Linked DNA regions of Homo sapiens: regions 2 and 3 are each linked to region 1. The links are contacts of gene promoters, found by promoter capture Hi-C in blood cells and fetal thymus (Javierre and others, 2016). All regions are on one chromosome and are shown on one strand. The core of a region is centred on a gene start or on the middle of the fragment in contact, and the rest is flanking DNA. Distances in the headings are between cores, read along the strand shown.

Region 1 (3,374 bases), core at 875-3,374:
CTTACTACTACAGGAATAAACTCATGTAATCATTATCCAAGGTCGCTGCTATTATCCCTATTTTACAGATGATGCAACTAAGGCATCAGAGATATTAAATGATTCTGGTTCTTGCTCGCACAGTCTAGTCTGACCATGTTGAATCTTACTTGGTCCCAACTTATTTCCAGATTTAAAGGTAAGCAAGAACTTAAAGATTCTGATCGCCAAGATTTATATATCTGAGCCAATCCTCACTCTATCAAGTTTCTGTAATTTGGAAGACTTTGAGAACAGATCATCTTCCCTTTTCATCCCCCTCAAAAAAATGGAGAAAATATAAGAAACTGGAAATTCCTGGGGATGTTTTTAGTTGGAGTTGTGTGTCTTGGTATTTATGTTTATCTGTAATTTTGAACTGGTATCTTAAAATTCTGCAGTTACAAATAAAAACAGATTGACATGTTCACTGTCTGTGTTAAGGAACTAAAACTTAATATTTCCTTTTCATTTGTTTTAGTACATAGTACTCTGAATCAATGGAGAAATGGATATTCACCTATATGTAAGCCTCAAATAAGGTCAGAATCTTCTGCACAACTGTTACAGGGAAGAAAGAAAAGACATTTGAGTGAAACAGCATTAGGTAGGTTAAAGTGAGGATATAAGCAGTAGTGATAAATATTAAAAATTAAAAATTCTGATTTTAAAATAACCTCTCATGGGAGTTTATAATCCAGAACAGCCACTAATAACACAAAACATCTATGAGTCTACAAACATGAAACAGCATATTCGTAGTTAATTTAGAATTATTTGTGGACTGGTATCTACCCACTTTATGGCAATTAAGTATTTCCCTCCTATGTTCCCTGACTAGTTGTCTTCTACCAATCAGTCCCTGGATGGGATTTAATCTTCAAAGTTGTGTTCTATGCTCAAAATAGGCTAGTGCAAAGTTGCCTTACAGAAACTGTTAACCATTTATGGTACCTACTGTGGAGATGTTGATGCACTGCAGATTCCTCAGGATTTTGAGAAAGTCAACAAGATTCAACTTATATATATATATAAAGCTTTAAAAACATCTAATAAGATGCAACATGAAGTATACATTACCTAAGATATAAAATGTTTCACTTAAATTGACTGACACTTTAGATCTAACTTCAAGTTTGATGTACATACAGGAATAAAATAAAGAAATGTCATACTACAAATAAATAACTAGACAATTCCAAAAGGGTAGGACATCTGGTCCAGCCTGTCAAAAGTCAATGTAATGAAAAATGATTTATTCTAGACTATAAGAAACCTAGGAGACAATGGCCAATTTTTATATATAGATCCTTATCTGAAGAAACTAGCTATAAAGGACTTTTTTTTAACAAATGGAGATATTTAAATATGGACTGGGTATTAGATTTTATATTATGCAGGAAATATTCTCATTTTAAAACACTTGTACTAAAATAAGGGCAGTAAGTAAACGCATACATATATATATTTACTACACACACACACACACACAGTAACTGGGAACCAAAACAGGAAAAAAAAAAAAAAAGAACTTGGAAGATATACAGAAAATACTAACAGAAGTAAACTTCTAATCAATATCCTGAGAGATATGAGAAATTTCATCTATGAAACAAGAACAGGATGCTGTTTTAAAAAAAGAGTACCAGAGAACAAGTACTTTCGGAAACATGTACTTATAATAGCAGAATTTTTTCAAAAAATTAAGAGTGTTCAGAAGACCAAGGACAGATACCTCACATAAATTAGGATAAAAAGTCAGATATGAAAAATGAGATTAGATAAGAAAATTAAGATAGTTCTGGTGGTTCAACTATGAATAGGAGTCACAGGAAACAAGAATAAAGGGATGAGATGAGGGATTATTCAGGGAACAATAAGAAATATATTCGATAAAAACTGCCAAAGCCCCAGAAAATGGAAATAACTTGTGGCATGACTGCAAGTAAGGCTCCTCTTTTTTCATTTCCTTTTTTGTTTTCTAATACACGAATTTAAACACACACACACAAAACAAGGAATCAATCACCTGTCATCTAATTAGGAAAGTAATTCTAATGATATTAGACTTGTTTAATGTGTAACATTCAATGGTTCTTTCCATGGCAGGAGAAAGAACTAAACTTGAAGAATCTGATTTTCAACACACAGAATCAGGATCCCATAGCAATTTTACTGCTGTTTCCAATGTCAACGTTTTATCAAGAATCCAGAATTCATCACGAGTAGGTTTTTCCATATGTTGAACTCTAAAATAGCTTTAAAAATAAAAACACCTGATTTTGAAAATAATTTATATTTTGCTAATCTATAACAGCCTTACTAGCACATATTAACAGACATTTATAACTATCTTGTTAGAAAACAATATATTTGATTCATACAACTTATTTTTAACTATGAAGCTAAAAGTTCATTAATATTTGGTTATAGCTTCTTTTTATGTGTTAAAAATTTAAACATTATCATGATCATCTCTATTCCTTAACATATTAAGCTAAATAAAGTCTTACTAATGAGAATTCAGGACTTTCTTGTTCTTGTCCTGTTTTTTGTTTGTTTGTTTGTTTTTTTGTTATCTGGCCAGGGAATAGAGAGGTCAAAAGGTGGGAGGGTTTAGAAATGAATTCCGAAACTCAGGAACCAGGAATGCATAAATGAAGAGTATACTGAAGGGCTGACCAAAAATGTTTCACTGCCTTTCCTAATAAAAAGTGGTTACTGATCATTTTCATTGACATTTAGGGTGATGTATGTTGGTCTTTTCTGATAAAGAGTTTTGCATTTAAGACCTATTTTTTGTGGTCTTAAAAATAAGCTTGTATGCTTGCACACATAAATACACATTACACATCTACCAAGAGATTGTTCTGATTTACAAAAGATAGAAAAATGTTTTATTTTTTGGTTTTCTTAACATTTTTTAGTCAGACTTTATAACAATGTATTTACAAAAATTATGTAACGTGTACTGCCATATTTACATAACTGATGAAAGGAGGGTATCATTACAAGTAACTAGACAGTACTGTAAATCTACTGTAATCCTGTTTTGCAGAATACTGCACGACGGAGATTGAGAAGTGAGAGCTCTTATGACATAGATAACATTGTGATTCCCATGTCATTAGTAGCCCCAGCTAAATTAGAGAAACTCCAATATAAGGAAATACTTACTCCAAGGTATGTATACTTACATCTTCATATTTTTCTTCCTTCCTTCCCTAATAAACTTAAATTTTCAAAGTGAAGAATTTTAATTAATGAAAGGAGCATCCTTCTCCCAGTTCCTTCATAGCCATGGAGGGGAAACGGTGAAAAAAAAATTACTCGTGCCTTAAGTGTTATATAGTATC
Region 2 (3,543 bases), core at 428-2,927, 77 kb before region 1:
TATGACCTTACCTTTTTCTTAATTCAGGATAAATGTGTATCTGGCCCTTTGTTCCTTTAAGAATATCATTATGTTTATTTTATGGAACATGCCACAAAATTAGGTTATTAGAATACAATGTTTTTGTTATTTTAGTAGTTTCTCATTACATTTATTAGGAATTAATCAAAGTGTTTAGTTGTTTATATGCAACTTAGTTGAAATGTTATTATATAAGAAAAACATCACTTTCCTTGCTCTTATAGCTTCTTGAGTTATTGTAAGAAAAAAATTGAGAAGGATGGCCAGTACTGTCTTGAAATAGAACTTTCTGTTTAATGTATTTTAAATGTAAAAAAAATTGTTCTCACTTAAGTTAGAGATAAAGGGAAAGGAAAGAGATTGAGAGATGCTGTTTTGTAAATATCCTGTTTCAATAAGTGCTAGTTTGTGCCTTAAGTCAGAAAACACATCATTTGCCCCTTTACCATTCTTCTTATGGTCTAAACTTTGCTTAAATTTTCAGAGGAGAAGGCCAGGCATGGTGGCTCAAGCCTGTAATCCCAGCACTTTGGGAGGCCGAGGCAGGCGAATTACAAGGTCAGGAGATTGAGACCATCCTGGCTAACACGGTGAAACCCCATCTCTACTAAAAATATTTTTTAAAAAATTAGCCGGGCGTGGTGGCGGGCACCTGTAGTCCCAGCTACTCGGAAGGCTGAGGCAGGAGAATGGCGTGAACCCGGGAGGCAGAGCTTGCAGTGAGTCAAGATTGCGCCACTGCACTCCAGCCTGGGCAATAGAACAAGACTCTGTCTCAAAAAAAAAAAATATATATATATATATTTTTTTTTTGAGGAGAAGAAAGCAGTTATTAGCAACATCCTTTGGTGGTTCTTGCGACAGCTTTGTCAACATATTACAGATTCCTATATTTCCTCTTCTCCCTGCTTCAAACTTTCTAATAAGACAACAGATTCTTCTCACCCTCAGAAAAAAATTGAAATATTTTTCTTGGGAGAACACTGGCTATATCAAATGGTTTCTCTCTTAGATTTCTTTTGTTATCCTGCAGTAGGGGCTTCCACATTTTAAATTGTACCTTTTGTGTGTTTTAAATTTTTTATTTAAAGTTTTACTTAAAATTAACTTTAGTGAATTTATGTGAATAATAGAGATGTTGCTGAGGCAGTTCTTTTTTCACACAGTGTTTTCTCTGTGAAGACCCTGCATTGTCAGGATTTCTCTTCTCAGAAACAGTTGATTTGCTTTCATCTTATGCTAGAGTTTTGACTTGTTTCAGTTGTTGTAACTCGTTTTTCTAAAAATATTTTTTGTCTTTCTTATCTATGTTGTTTTACATATCAGAATATCCTTTTACTAATTTTTTTAAGAACAGAAACTCTCTGCTGTGTCCCCAGAGGATTAAATATAAATATTCAACCCTTTCCTCTCCATTCTTGGCAGTGGTGGATCAGAATGGGCCACTCTCCTCACACTCCAACAGTTTTGTCCAGGGTAGTAGTTTATGGAGGAAAAAACAGATTATGAAGTTGACTATGACGGTCTCCCTGGTTGAATTTTAATTTTTTTTTTTTTTTTTGACAGAGTCTCTGTCACCCAGGCTGGAGTGCAGTGGTGCGATCTCGGCTCACTGCAACCTCCTCCTCCTGGGTTCAAGCAATTCTTTTGCCTCAGCCTCCCAAGTATCTGGGACCAAAGGCATGTGCCATGATGCCCAGCCAATTTTTGTACTGTTAGTAGAGACAGGGTTTTGCTATGTTGGCCAGGCTGGTGTTGAACTCCTGGCCTCAAGTGATCCACCTGCCTCACCCTCCCAAAGTGCTAGGATTACAGGCGTAAACCACCATGCCCTGCCTCCCTGGTTGAATTTTAAAAATATAATTCTTTATTAAACTAACTATAGCAGGCTTTGTACTTATAGAAAGGTAGTATTCTAAAGGTTTGGAAATAGAACTTTGAAATTCAGAGTAGAGTTTTCCCATAGATGCAGATTTATAAATATGGATTCTGAAATCAGACTAATCTATACAGACTGATATCAGACTAATCTATACAGACTGGCCCATACTATAAACTGGAATCAAACCAAAGACAATTGCAGTTAAATTGATAAGGTGGAACTTGTGTTTCTTTGACATGCAGGTACTTGTGGAGAAACCTAGTGAGAGTAGGTTTGAAATTTCCTCTTCTCCCTGCTTCAAACTTTCTAATAAGACAACAGATTCTTCTCACCTTCAGAAAAAAATTGAAATATTTTTCTTGGGAGAACACTGGCTATATCAAATGGTTTCTCTCTTAGATTTCTTTTGTTATCCTGCAGTAGGGGCTTCCACATTTTAAATTGTACCTTTTGTGTGTAGACTTGTAGAAATTTTGAATGGATACTCTCAAGAGCTTTTCAGACTAATGATACCATATCTATTATATCTAATTTATTTTTTTAAATACCAAATGAAATAAGAACTTTTGAGCATGTTTCTTCAGATTTCTTGACGGCCATATTTGTTCATTCTAAGAAAACAGTAATTGGGATCAAGTGGCTCCCCTTCTCCTTGGAAAAGTCAGCATGTTAGCACTATTCAAAATGTAGATTTTTTTAAAAAGCGCATTTACTACTTTTACCAAAAATTTTACTACAAAATAATAAAATATACATTTAATACCATAACTGAATATGTGCATTCTAAAGTTATATATTCTCTAAATTACATAGTGTAAACTAAAACTCATATATAACACATTATTATCTATAGGCAATTTCCATCTTATAAATAAGACTTATGCATGATGTAGGTGGCCCACAGCAATCATTTAATTCATTCCATTTTTGAAATAATGCACACTAATATTAATGTTAGTTTATTTTTTATTACAATAATATAGTATTTTAGCCACATTAGGAGTGTAATAATTTTCCAACTAGCCTATAGGAATTTATTAGCATGTTTCAAATATATATATATATATTTTTTTTCAAATATATATATATATTTATATATGTAAAACCTGTGTGTGTATATAATATATAATATATGTAATATCAGTATATATATAACATAATATCTGTGTATGTGTAATATATATATGGTATATATTACTGTATTATTTTCAGGAGGAAGGGTGGTAGAATAGATAGGAAGGAAAGAAATTTTACAGTGGGAACTGATTATGAAACCATTAAGATCATGCCTTTGCACTCCTTTTTTCTCTTTCTCTGTTGTCTCCATTGCCTCTGAGGAACCTAAAGTTGAGAACAGTTGGAGTGAGGAAGCTGGGGAATGGAGGAGAAAGCCGAGCAAACCAGTTGAGGAATAAGTATGTTTGTGAGTAGGAGGCAGAGAGTACAGAGACAACTTGATCCCTATTCATTCCCCCAGTTCCTTACATTTCAGAATATACCCCATCAAAGTTGAAAGCTTGTGTCTTTATTATTAACACAGCTACCCTGAAAGCAGTGGGAACTTTGATTGGCCTAGAGAGTACTTTTTCTCAGTGGTGCAGTCCTATCCCTGGTTGCTGGCTGACAGCAACAGGGGCAGG
Region 3 (3,560 bases), core at 998-3,497, 110 kb before region 1:
TGTGTGTGTATCCACAATGTGGGTTGTTTCCAGATTACTTCAAACTTGTTAGCATTTTGAAATGATCAAGGTCAAGCTTTTCTCAACTAAAGAGGAATTCTTAGCAGTAGCTGAAGATCTAAACAAAATGCTAAAAGTCCTATAGAAATATCCTCCTGTAGCTCAGTAAGTTGCTGGTTTATTGGCTATACATTTTTCTGTGTTGACTAAGCTTTAAAGATATTTTGCTTGTGTTAAAAAGAAATTGACTAATGAAAAATGCTGTCTCTAGAAGATATTTTTAATTTTTATTAAACTGGTTTCTATTAGAACTAATGTCTTCAAGGATGCACATCAAAAAAAGAAGAGACCCAGGATATGAAGCTTTAAATGTGGACTGCTTTATTTTAGGTACAAATGCCAGTGGAAACTTTCCATTTTTATAATAATCATTATTGTTTTGTTAGGGCTCAGATTTAAAAGTTCCTTAGGTATTGTGTGGTCTGGCACTATCTTCACAATAAGTCTAACTATTTTTATTTTGCAGAACATGAGGTTATACAGAAGTGCATATATTGTGTTAGAGCAGGAATGCCTGTACTTGATTCTGGCTTAGTGGTAGTCATTTTTTTGATTAATAAAGGTAGTTTTAATTTTTATCCTATTTCTTTTCAGGGCCCATTATAGTGTTTCGCAGGCCCATTACTAACTCATTTGTGTGCATTAGGAAAAGATTTTCCTTCCACTGAGCAGATGTAGGTTTGTAATTGCAGGGTTTGGAGTACAGAACTCTTGCTGGATTTTACTTGCATCTTCATCCAGGCCCGTGTACAGTTCAGTTTGAAAACATTACATGGTTGCCTGGCTTCCTGAACAAAAGTGAGACATGCACACACATACACACAATGCTTATTGAACAGTGAAATTGTTTCTTTAGCAAATAAATGTTTTGATTAGTTTAACATTTATTTACAGTATTTCCCTTTTAAAAATATGTCCTTATTTGTCAATGTTTGATGTTACACAAAGATTTTACAAACATATTTAAGACTATTTTACAGGCTATAACTTTGAAAATTCTTTCCATACAAGAGAAGAGGCGTGGTAGCGATAGAATGCATAAATATTTCCCAATCTCTCCTTTTTTTTCTTTTTTTTCTTTGAGGGGTGGGAGGATAGATAATAAGAGAAGAAGACTAAATTTGCCCATCCCATATATGAATTATTTTTAATTAATACTGAAATTTTCAGTTTAGGCAGTTGACACTAGGTTCTGCCAGAGTTCTAGGCAGAATTGCATAAGATCTCAAGATGTGTTTACTCCATTTATTCTTCCTTTTTGGAACCCTTTTTAAGTTCCAACCTCAGATAGTCCTTGGACATCCTAAACTGCACTTTTTAATGTGGTTTATCTTCATGCCAGAATTTCTAGAGGTCACAACTGTATATTTATTTTTTTGTTTTTGTTTGTTGTTTACTTCATGAATGTGTGCATATATGTGTCTATATTGTGTGTGTACAACTTGATGATAGAGTATGTAAGTTATTAACTTGTATGTCAGTAAGGCTCATCTTAAAGACAATGAACATTTTAAATGAGAACTTGTTAGCCCAAATGATCCTAATAGCATGAAATATTTTCGAGGGAGGAATATGTTATTTAAGGTATATGTTAAGCTTTTATAACAAGGAGAAGTCAACATAAATATATAGAATTTATTTTTCTCTCATTTAACGGTCAAGAATTAGATATGCTTTACAGGGTTTAGCAGAGACCTTTTAGCTTTGCTGTTCCTTAGGATGCTGCCCTTGCCTGCATTGTTGAGAGTCACTGGTACTTCATTTCATTTCCATATTCAGTCATTTTTAATGATAAACCCAATCATTTATAATGGCCAGACCTAGAAGTTGTGCACATAATTTTGGCTCACGTTTTATTTTCAAGGACTTTGTTGTATAGTCAGACCTAACTGCAAGTAAGGCTGGGAAATAAGGTCTCTAAGCTGAGCTGCTGAGGGCTCAGCTGAAACCCAAGGAGCTCTATTATCCAAAAAGTATAGGAGGATGGATATTAGGGGAAAACAAGAAGTCTATTCAGTTTGCCTCTTTGGCTACCCAAATGTCCATGTACCTCTTTCTCATTCATAAAACATACCATCTTCTCAAGGATGATAACCCAAAGTCACATTCATTGGGTAAAGTCCTCTATATCGGGTTTCTGTGTGGTTCATCATGATGTGGTGACCAATAAACTAAGAGACAAGTTTCCTAATTTTCTTGACCTCTTGCTTCTTGTATGATGGTATAAAGGACAAGGAAAATTCCCAATGGGAAAAAAAAGAATGGGCCATATATGATAGTTCCTGTTCCTTACAATAATAGACTTCTTGCTCTGGCAGTGGAGTAAGGTCTTGCTAGGACCTTAATTTTGCTTTCTGAGATAAGCTCCCTTGTCATTTGTCCTTCATAGTCCCTGACCTTGCTCTTTGGGAATTACTCTTGGTCTATGATTCTTTGTGACTGTATCTAACATGGGTGTTAGTGTACTCTTATTGGAGACACCACTGCATTCTCACCCTGCTTTCTATTGGTGCAGATTTGGCTCCCAGGGATAGTCTTTGTTAGGCTTATGGTAGTATTTCCTAGTCGAGTTCCCTCCGAAATGTAGGTTTCCATTCTCTTTTTCTTCCTGTCAGTTATATGTGAAAATACCACAGCCAAAGATCTCATTTTGTCATAGTTGTTAAGCCTATGCACTTATTAATTTACTAGTTATTTTCCTCAGACTATCCACCTCTCCCTCAATTTGATAACTGCCTTAGTGTAGTGGCTACTCTACACATGCTCTAACAAAGCTTTAAAGTAAGCTGAAATTTATGAAGTTGAACAGCAAGTAATATAATAACCTGTCAGAACAGAATTCATCACTCTTTAAGGAAGACCACAAAATCCACACATTAACAACATAATCATAGTACCCTTAAAATATGTATTTATATAAAACCTACTAGACATGTGTGTATGTATGTGCACATGTGTGTATTCAACTATTAGGCATGCAAAGAAGCGGAGAAAAATTATTAATGGAAACTGATGTGGAAATGATAATGATCATGAAAGTAGTTGGCAAAGAGCTTAAAATATCTATTGTAAATATGCTCAAGGACTTAAAAGGAAAATGTGAACATAATGAAAGAAATTGAACATATAAAGAACCATTGAACGTTCAGAAGCTAAAAATATCTGAAATGTAAAACGACTTCAGCTAACAAGGGAATAGTCATTCAGAAGAAGTGGTTAATAAATAAAAATCACTGCTAACTTCTCACTAGAAGGTATGTAAGCCAGAAAAATGGAATGATATATTTAAAGTGCTGAAAGGTGGGGAAAAAAAGTCAGTCTAAAATTCTCTGCCCAGTGAAACATTTTAAAAAACAGAGACAAAATGACATTTCCAGATAAGCAAAAATAGAGAGAAGTTGTCAGTATACACGCACTAAAGAAATTTTAAAAGATGATCTTCAGGCTGAAGGAAAATCATACTGGGTAAAAACAGATTTACATAAAGGAAAAAAGAAATG

The links. The method cuts DNA at HindIII sites, captures the fragments that hold promoters and counts their contacts. A CHiCAGO score of 5 or more calls a contact.
Region 2: a contact is called between a fragment that was not itself captured here and the fragment with the promoter of KANSL1L-AS1 in region 1, in 2 of 17 cell types (neutrophils and fetal thymus). The highest score is 6.7, in neutrophils.
Region 3: a fragment that was not itself captured here is called in contact with the fragment with the promoter of KANSL1L-AS1 in region 1 in 7 of 17 cell types (neutrophils, fetal thymus, activated CD4 T cells and 4 more); the score reaches 11.1 in neutrophils.

The regions. Positions count from the first base shown.
Region 1 is chr2:210,028,672-210,032,045 of GRCh38, reverse strand. KANSL1L-AS1 (KANSL1L antisense RNA 1) reads right to left here and starts at 2,124. Exons shown (of 5, transcript NR_110291.1): 1 at 2,048-2,124; 2 at 539-579. KANSL1L (KAT8 regulatory NSL complex subunit 1 like) reads left to right here. Exons shown (of 15, transcript NM_152519.4): 9 at 500-625; 10 at 2,128-2,243; 11 at 3,077-3,201. The HindIII fragment of the contact is 1,781 bases long and covers 1,058-2,838 here.
Region 2 is chr2:210,104,802-210,108,344 of GRCh38, reverse strand. The region is part of intron 3 of KANSL1L (KAT8 regulatory NSL complex subunit 1 like); the gene reads left to right. Among named protein-coding and RNA genes, the nearest start is that of KANSL1L, 65 kb to the left of the region's middle. The HindIII fragment of the contact is 3,488 bases long and covers 1-3,421 here.
Region 3 is chr2:210,133,871-210,137,430 of GRCh38, reverse strand. The region is part of intron 2 of KANSL1L (KAT8 regulatory NSL complex subunit 1 like); the gene reads left to right. It overlaps LOC107985977 (a long non-coding RNA gene), which reads left to right. Exons shown (of 2, transcript XR_001739866.3): 2 at 310-3,560. Among named protein-coding and RNA genes, the nearest start is that of KANSL1L, 36 kb to the left of the region's middle. The HindIII fragment of the contact is 1,178 bases long and covers 1,659-2,836 here.